3 separate regions of the Homo sapiens genome follow, and all the other regions are linked to region 1. The links are contacts of gene promoters, found by promoter capture Hi-C in blood cells and fetal thymus (Javierre and others, 2016). All regions are on one chromosome and are shown on one strand. Each heading gives the region's core, a stretch centred on a gene start or on the middle of the fragment in contact. The rest is flanking DNA. Distances are from core to core; before and after follow the strand shown.

Evidence for each region. The method cuts DNA at HindIII sites, captures the fragments that hold promoters and counts their contacts. A CHiCAGO score of 5 or more calls a contact.
Region 2: a fragment that was not itself captured here is called in contact with the fragment with the promoter of ORC2 in region 1 in 5 of 17 cell types (neutrophils, monocytes, M1 macrophages and 2 more); the score reaches 12.9 in neutrophils.
Region 3: a fragment that was not itself captured here is called in contact with the fragment with the promoter of ORC2 in region 1 in 5 of 17 cell types (neutrophils, erythroblasts, megakaryocytes and 2 more); the score reaches 9.2 in neutrophils.

What each region holds. Positions count from the first base shown.
Region 1 is chr2:200,962,204-200,965,062 of GRCh38, reverse strand. It overlaps ORC2 (origin recognition complex subunit 2), which reads left to right and starts at 1,403. Exons shown (of 18, transcript NM_006190.5): 1 at 1,403-1,573. LOC105373835 (a long non-coding RNA gene) reads right to left here and starts at 1,631. Exons shown (of 3, transcript NR_187976.1): 1 at 1,433-1,631. RefSeq lists a silencer at 994-1,392 and an enhancer at 2,101-2,170. The HindIII fragment of the contact is 10,169 bases long and covers 1-2,859 here.
Region 2 is chr2:201,204,736-201,207,594 of GRCh38, reverse strand. CASP10 (caspase 10) reads right to left here. Exons shown (of 10, transcript NM_032977.4): 7 at 1,622-1,713. Among named protein-coding and RNA genes, the nearest start is that of CASP10, 23 kb to the right of the region's middle. The HindIII fragment of the contact is 4,768 bases long and covers 1-2,859 here.
Region 3 is chr2:201,097,588-201,100,446 of GRCh38, reverse strand. No RefSeq gene overlaps it. Among named protein-coding and RNA genes, the nearest start is that of CFLAR, 17 kb to the left of the region's middle. The HindIII fragment of the contact is 8,067 bases long and covers 1-2,859 here.

The DNA.
Region 1 (2,859 bases), core at 154-2,653:
ATCCTACCTCCTTTATCCAAAGATCTTTCAATACAAATCTGACCAGTGCCCTAAGGGCCAACTAAGCCCTTCATAATAACAGACCCAATGCTTGGCATTTTACACAGCTGTTACACGGATTTGGACCTTCTACCTGGAAAATTTTACCCCTCTTGGCCTGTTTTAAATCTATTCAACACAGGGGTTTCAGTTTAAACATCTCTTCCTCCTAGAAAATTGTTCCTGACTCCTTCTGGGCTTTTAATTAGCTACTCCTACCATGTGCTCCAATGCACTTCCCATATCATGGTATTTTTCTCAATATTGTCCGTTCAATATCTTCACGTGCTAGGTAACTACAGTGAATGCAGAGATCGTAGTTGTCTCGCTCGATAATGAATACTTATCTTCTGTTCGCAGAGTACTCTGTAGTTTTGTTTTGAGTAAGTGAATCCAAATGAAACAATACCCTGTTCTTAATACTGTATGGATCCCATCCAGGTTCATTCCTTTTCTTCCTCATTTTCTCTGTCTTGTCTTTTTTATATTTTGGATAGTTGAAGTCAATCATTTTCTCTGTCTATTCATTCTATTTCCCCAGCCTCTTCATCCCACTAGCCGTCCGATCCCATCTCCATATTCAGTGCTTCTCCTAACGTCTCTTCTTCTCCCTACCCCAAACCCTGGAGATGTACAAGATCCTACCTTTCACGCCAAATGAAGAAAATCTTTAAAAAAGAAATGCGAATCAATTTCCATTACCTTTTTCTTCAAAAGGTAGCTGGGAAACCAATGAACACTTTTTTTTTTTTTTTTTTTTTTTTTTGAGACGGAGTTTCGCTCTTGTTGCCCAGGCTGGAATGCAATGGCTCGATCTCGGCTCACTGCAACGTCCGCCTCCCGGGTTCAAGCGTTTCTCCTGCCTCAGCCTCCCGAGTAGCTAGTATTACAGGCATGCGCCACCACGCCCGGCTAATTTTGTATTTTTAGGAGAGACGGGGTTTCTCCATGTCGGTCAGACTGGTCTCGAGCTCCCGACCTCAGGTGATTCGCCCGCCTCGGCCTCCCAAGGTGCTGGGATTAGAGGCGTGAGACACTGCGCCCGACCCCAAAGAACACTTTTTAAAGATTGCTACAAGACAAACAGCTACCACTCAGCCAGCTACTGTGCAAACTTCCTCAGATCCAAACAACACTTCCTTTTCCCTTCCCCGGAAACGGAAAGAAGAAAGGAAAGGTAAGGCCCACAACTCAGGGCCCAAGAATCCGTTTTCCTCAGGTTTCCTGATGGGCGGGGCCGAATGGCCGGCGCCGACTGGACGGCAGAGCCGTCGCTCTTGGCCGACTCCTCTTCCTATTGGCTTCCTCGGGCACCGCCCCCTGAACAGGGCGGGAGATTCGGTGTGCCGCACGCAGGCTTCCCATCCCCCAGCTGGCCTCCGGTGCTCCTTACCTCCCCGGTGGTCGGGCGCGAATTACTGGAAATTGGCTTTTCCCGTTGGGGCCGAAGGTACCTTCCCTGCGGCGGCGACTCAGCGGGGTGTCGTTCGGCCGGCGTGACGCAGCCGGATCGGCGCCAGACGGAAACCTAGCGGTGAGTAGTGGGGTGTCGGGGCAGCCTGCCTCCCTTTTCTGCTTAGCTCGCGGCGTGTGAGGTGCGTCCAGGTGCACCCAGCCCCGCGTCGGAGCTTGGCCCCTAGCGTCCCAAGTCGCGCATCTCAGGACTTTCCCTCGGCACTTGGGGCATGGTCTTTGCGCCTCGCTGCCCCCCGCAGGCTGCCCGGGGGCTCGAGAACCCTTACTGGTGGAGCGCAGCCAACTGGCCAGAGGCTGGAGGCGCAGGCCAAAGTCCTTTAAGACTTGAGGTGAGAGGCTCACTCTGGGAGGACCTTTCGTTAGTCTGCCCCGCAGTTATAGGCCTTTTGTGCAAGGGACGCCTGATACTAACCTACCTGATTCCCAGCTTACGAAGCCCTCTGGTTGGAAAAGGAGAACTGTGAAGATGTGTAACGACAGTGGTAAAGTGCCCTGTGAGGTATGAAGAGGAAGAGATCGCGTCCCAGAACCACTGTAGCTAGAACCTTTGATGTCATCCCAGCCTGGAGGCACCAATGTGTCCTGCCAGCTAACTGATCGGTCACCTTGGAGCCATGCTTGGCTGTAAAATGTTGATAAGCCAGGCTCTTTTGGTAGAGCTTTTTAATTAAAAAGATGTTGAGACGTTACTTTTCATTTTACAATTGAAATCCTAATAGAATCATTACACTTTCCCGCAGTTAAATTGCAATCTGAAGAAAAATAGCACGGCCCTACACCGTTATATAAGGGCACTGCACGTTAAACGGACATCATCACTTATTGAGCAGTTTTTCTGTTAGATGTTGAATGAGTTAGAGATGTACAAGAGATCTGCATGGTTAAGTTGAAGTTTAAAGTAAAAATATCTCAGTGCACTGCAGTAAGGAGCTAAAAAAGAAAAAGGTTAAAGTAAAAATACCGATAATTGGGAGCATTCAGTGATGCTCTTTTATATATCAGGCACATCATTTCATTTAATCGTCAGGACTTTGGACAAAGTCACACAGTTATAAAGTATGGAGTGGAGATTGGAACTCAGGTTTCTCCAATATTAAAATTGGTGTTTAACCACTAATCTATCCAACCTTCTTTTTCAAAGGATTATGTTTTTAAAAATTACAGCAAATCTTTTATTTGTTTTCAAAGGAGAGTGTGTTGCTACCACTTGGTGCAATGCTAACACTTGGTGCTGCAGAATTGCCTTGAAGTAACTCCTTGAAAGGGGTTGGCCTATAAGCACCAAGGCAGTGCCTTGAGGGGTCATAATGGTCACTAAATATTGCATTTTATTGTGTGATTGTT
Region 2 (2,859 bases), core at 98-2,597, 240 kb before region 1:
AGTAGAGACGGGGTTTCACTATGTTGGCCAGGATGGTCTTGATCTCTTGACCTTGTGATCCGCCCACCTCGTCCTCCCAAAGTGCTGGGATTACAGGCATGAGCCACCGCGCCCAGCCGATAATTTTTGTATTTTTGGTTGAGGTAGAGTTTCACCATGTTGGCCAGGCTGGTCTTGAACTCCTGACCTCAAGTGATTCGCCCACCTCAGCCTCCCAAAGTGCTAGGATTACAGGCATGAGCCACCATGCCTGTCCAAAACCATGTTTTTATACTCTAGTCTAAACCCCTTGGGGTATTTATGCCACATTATTTCTGAAGTCACATATTGAAAAACTGGGGATTCTGACTACTCTGCAACTCACTTTTACTGCACAATTGTGATCTGAATAAAATTTCAAAGATTCTTTTTTAAGTCCTAGAGCCCAGGACAAAGGATAAATCTCATTTGCACTAAAGATTAGACAGTTCCTTTCTTTCAGGATGCCACTCCCAGTATCAGAGGCAGAGAGTTCTCAAGATCCTGGCCCTAGTGTGGAATTAGCTAATTAATTCCAAGGTGAAATGCCAGATCCTGATTAAAATTCAGACTTCACCTGGTTTGGCTGGAGAAGCTCAATCATGACAGTTAAGAAAATGGAATATATATTTTAATATTGTCAAACCCAGGGTTTATGCAAAAGCATCTTCACTTTCATATTAGCAACATGAATGAAGAAAGCATACACAAGGATTTCATGAGACAACATAAATATCAAAGATTTTTTTCAGATGGTTCATTTCTGGAGTGATCTAATGCCTTCAAAAAAGGGAAATCTTTTGTAATTTTATTTCTGAATATAAAAATAATATACAAGCTGGCATGGTGGTACTTGGGTGGCTGAGGCAGGAGAATTCCTTGAGCCTGAGAGTTCAGGACAAGCCTGGGCAACACAGTGAGACCGCCATCTTTATATATATGTGAATATATATATGAGTGTGTGTATATATATATATACACTTAATATATAAGTATATATATATAAAGTATACTTATAAATAAAGTATATATATACACATATATATTCATATATATATAAAGATGGCTGATATATATTCATATGTATATAAAGATGGCTGTATATTCAATTTTTAAAATTCAATATATATATATATTCACAGTAGGAATTTAAAAACATGTGCAATTATTTTTTAAGGCTATTGTAAACAGCATGTGATTGCAAATTAGCTGAGCTGGCTTTAGCAGAGCCTCTGGGCAGCTAAAATCATCCTTGAAATCGTGGTACATCTTTATCCAAGCAGAAAACAAGTGGCTTCAATGGATAAGAAAAGAAACTACCCCTCTCCAGAAATAACCCAAAGGGTATGCATGACTCAAAGTGTAACAGCATTTCCTCCACAGTCAAAGGGATCAGTCACTTCTGATTGATACAGAAAAAGGTGGGAAGAACAGAGATAATTACAGAGAGAGGGAGAAACAAGTCTGAAACAAACAGCTCGGAGCCCTTAAAATCATCGAAGGCTGGACCCTAGGGAGAGAGCCCCTAAAGAAACCGTCCTTTTGATTAAATTTGGAAAAAAAATTTTTTTATTAAAAAAGGAATAAAAGAAACCATCCAGACCTTTGTGCTGGTTTCAGAGTTTAGAGTGTTAGCAGATGCTCCTTGCATCCCCCTGGAGACCAGGCTTGGTGCACCATTTGTGGCTCTGTTACCTAGAAAGAGAGGTACTCAGACTCCAAATATCTTCCCCAAGCACTTAGATTTCTTCACTGATAATTTTCGCATCTAATTCTGGAGAATTATGCTTCTCTCAAGGCCCTCCTGAGACAAATTCAGCCACCATGCCCTTCCTGATGGGAGAGACTGATGTGTCTTCGCATTCTTTTTTGCTTTGTCTGGGTTGGAAACTATGCTGCTGGCAGGGATTGGGTGGGGAATTAATTAAGATCCCATGGATCAGCTCAAGGCTTCCAGCTCAAGTATGGTTGGATTGAGTCAGCATTTATGTCACTGGATATAAAGAGGCTAGGTGGACCTCTTCCCTAGAGAAGGAAAAAGAGGGAGGCTGGGCGTGGTGGCTCATGCCTGTAATCCCAGCACTTTGGGAGGCCAAGACGGGCTGATCGCTTGAGCCCAGGAGTTCAAGACCAGCCTGGACAACTTAGTGAGACCCCATCTCTAGAAAAAAAAAATACAAAAAATTAGCTGGGCATGGTGACACATTGCCTGTAGTCCCAGCTTCCTGGGACGTTGAGGTGGGAGGATCACCTGAGTCCGAGGGGTCAAGGCTGCAGTGAGCTGTGATTACACCACTGCACTCCAGCCTAGGCAACAGAGTGAGGCCCTGTCTCAAAAAAAAAAAAAAGAAAAGAAAAGAAAAGAAAAAAGAGGGGAAAAAGAAAGTTCCAGTTGGGCATCGACTGAGGATCACACTGCTTTGAAGTGTTCCTGCCAACTCCCTGATTCCTCTGGAAAAGACTCTATCACAGAGAGAAAGTCAGCAATGCATTATTTGTCACATGGCACTAACAGGAAAATGTAACATCAAACAGTTTTCTTTTTCCACTCACAGGAAGTTTGTAGTAGAACCCACCAAACTCTGTCCTTGTCTCTGGGGCATGAGTTAGTTATTAACTACTGCTAAGGGTCAGTCCTCAGGCTGAGCAAGTCCATATTCCCCAGACCAGAAAATACAGCAAAAGGGATCCACGCTTCAGTGGCTCAGAGCACCTATAAATTCCTCCTCACCATGAGAGAAGGTAATGCTCCACGGGAAGTCACGTCTAAATGTTGGAACCGCAGAATTGTAAAGCTGAAAGAAACTGCTTTATTCTTCAGAGGGGTGAAGCAGTCACCTG
Region 3 (2,859 bases), core at 230-2,729, 140 kb before region 1:
CTTGTCCTTGCACCATCTTACTTCCATAACCCATTTGGACAGGATTTTCTAGCTTTGGGTCTTAGCACTCTCTTTAGACATTATTTGGTAAATGTCCTCTGCCCCAGACCTCAGGACATATACCACATGGACCCCACCACCATTCCTACCCATTTTTCTGTGAAAATTTTCCAGAAATAAATTTCTGATCATGTGGCCAATCAACCCACTACAATCTCAACCAAGACTGCATATGCAAAACCACTTTGTTGTTTTAGATTTTGTCACTTTTTGGAATTATAATTTTGTTATGCCATTTATTCCCCTTAGCAAGAATAATTAATTGCCCTTAAAGGATAGTGGAAGGCGGAAAATAATGATGTAATGTTTAGAAATATTATAGCATTAGAAATAAATGCTCAGAAATATTAAATTAGTCTTTCCACCAGGATATAAAGGTCCATCTTCTGCTGAGAAGTCTATGAGAGGCCAAGTAATCATTTACGAGAGTAGCTGCGTAACACATTGGTTCGCTGCAGGCTCTCTTATTGGTTTTTGATACAGGTTTCACACAGGCTTCATTTGCCAATTGTGTTGTTTAGTTGGGAAGTAAAAGGTTCTTGAGATTGGGGTGGAGATGGGGAGAGGAACACTGATTGATTCCTGGCTTGGGACAGGCGATTGTTGCTATATTGCTATACTCTTACAGGAGTATTATCTCCTTTGTCAAAATATAGCCAAGATGTGAAATTGAAATAGTAATTCTCCTTACTTAAAAATTATTTATTTCTTTTTTTGAGACAGAGTTTTCACTTTTCTTGCCCAGGCTGGGGTGCAATGGCACAATCTCAGCTCACTGCAACCTCTGCCTCCCAGGTTCAATTGATTCTCCTGCCTCAGCCTCCCAAGCAGCTGGGATTACAGGCGTGTGCCACCACGCCTGGCTAACTTTTTGTCTTTAGAGACCATGTTTCACCATATTGGTCAGGCTGGTCTCGAACTCCTGACCCCAGGTAATCGTCCCGGCTCTGCCTCTCAAAGTGCTGGGATTACAGGCATGAGCCACCGCACCCGGCTCCTCCTTGCTTAAAAATTCTAATAAGTGGCTGGGCACAGTCGCTCACGCCTGTAATCCCAGCACTTTGGGAGGCTGAGGTGGGCGGATCACAAGGTCAGGAGTTCAAGACCAGCCTGGCCAACATGGTGAAGCCCCGTCTCTCCTAAAAAAAAAATACAAAAATTAGCCAGGCATGGTGGGGCGCGCCTGTAGTCCCAGCTACTCGGGAGGCTGAGGCAGGAGAATTGCTTGAACCTGGGAGGCAGAGGTTGCAGTGAGCCAAGATCATGCCACTGCACTCCAGCCTGAGCGACAGAGCAAGACTCCGTCTCAAAAAAAAAGTGGGGGAGGGGCTGGGTGCAGGGGCTCATGCCTGTAATCCCAGCACTTTGGGAGGCTGAGGCGGGCAGATCACGAGGTCAGGAGATTGAGACTATCCTGGCTAACAAGGTGAAACCTCGTACAAAAAATTAGCTGGGCGTGGTGGCGGGTGCCTGTAGTCCCAGCTACTCGGGAGGCTGAGGCAGTAGAATGGCATGAACTCGGGAGGCGGAGTTCGCAGTGAGCCAAGATCGTGCCACTGCATTCCAGCCTGGGTGACAGAGTGAGATTCCATCTCAAAAAAAAAAAAAAAAAAAATGGTGGTGTGCATTGATGGAAAAGTTACATATTATAAAACTCCTTCAAAACCTGTTGTGTGTTTATTTTCTCAGTTACTCTTTATCTGACTTTTCTTTTTCTTTTTTTTTTTTTTTTAAGAGATAGAGTCCTATTCTGTCACCCAGGCTGGAGTGCAGTGTTGGCATGCTATAACCTTGAAACCTTGAACTCCTGGGCTCAAGTGCTCCTCTCACCTCACCCCGGCCTCCCAAAGTGCTGGGATTACAGGCATGAACCACTGTCTGTGCCTGGGCTCCCTCGCTCCCTCCCTCCCTCCCTCCCTTTCCTTCCTTCCTTCCTTCTGATGGAATCTCTCTCTGTCACCCAGGCTGGAGTGCAGTGGCACAATCTCGGCTCACTGTAACCTCTGCCTCCCAGGTTCAAGCAATTCTCCTGTCTCAGCTTCCAGAATAGTTGGGATTACAGGCGCCTGCCACCATGCCCGGCTAATATTTGTATTTTTAGTAGAGACAGGGTTTCACTGTGTTAGCCAGGATGGTCTCAATCTTCTGACCTCGTGATCTGCCTGCCTCGGCCTCCTAAAGTGCTGGGATTACAGGTGTGAGCCACCGCACCCAACTGTGTTTCTTTCTTTTTTAAATGATTGACTTTATTTTTTTTTTTATTTTTTTTATTTTTTTTATTTTTATTTTTTTTTAATAGACAAGGTCTCACTATGTTGCCCAGGCTACAGTGCAGTGGCTAATCACAAGCAGATCCCACTACTGATCAGCACAGGAGTTTTTGACCTGCTCTATTTCTGATCTGGGCCAGTTCACCTCCCAGGTTCATCCCTCCTTGGTCAACCTGGTGGTCCCCGCTCCCCGGAGGTCACCAATGTTTTTTTTTGGTTTGTTTGTTTGAAATGGAGTCTCGCTCTGTCACCCAGGCTGGAGCGCAGTGGTGTGATCTTGGCTCCCGCAACCTCTGCCTCTTGGGTTCAAGTGATTCTCCTGTCTCAGGCTCCCAAGTAACTGGGATTACAGTCATGTGCTACCATACCCAGCAAGATCGACCTTAGATGGTCAACTAAAAGGGGAATTTATTGCTCCATAAAAGTTGATTTGGCCGGGCGCGGTGGCTCACGCCTGTAATCCCAGCACTTTGGGAGGCCGAGGCGGGCGGATCATGAGGTCAGGAGATCGAGACCATCCCGGCTAAAA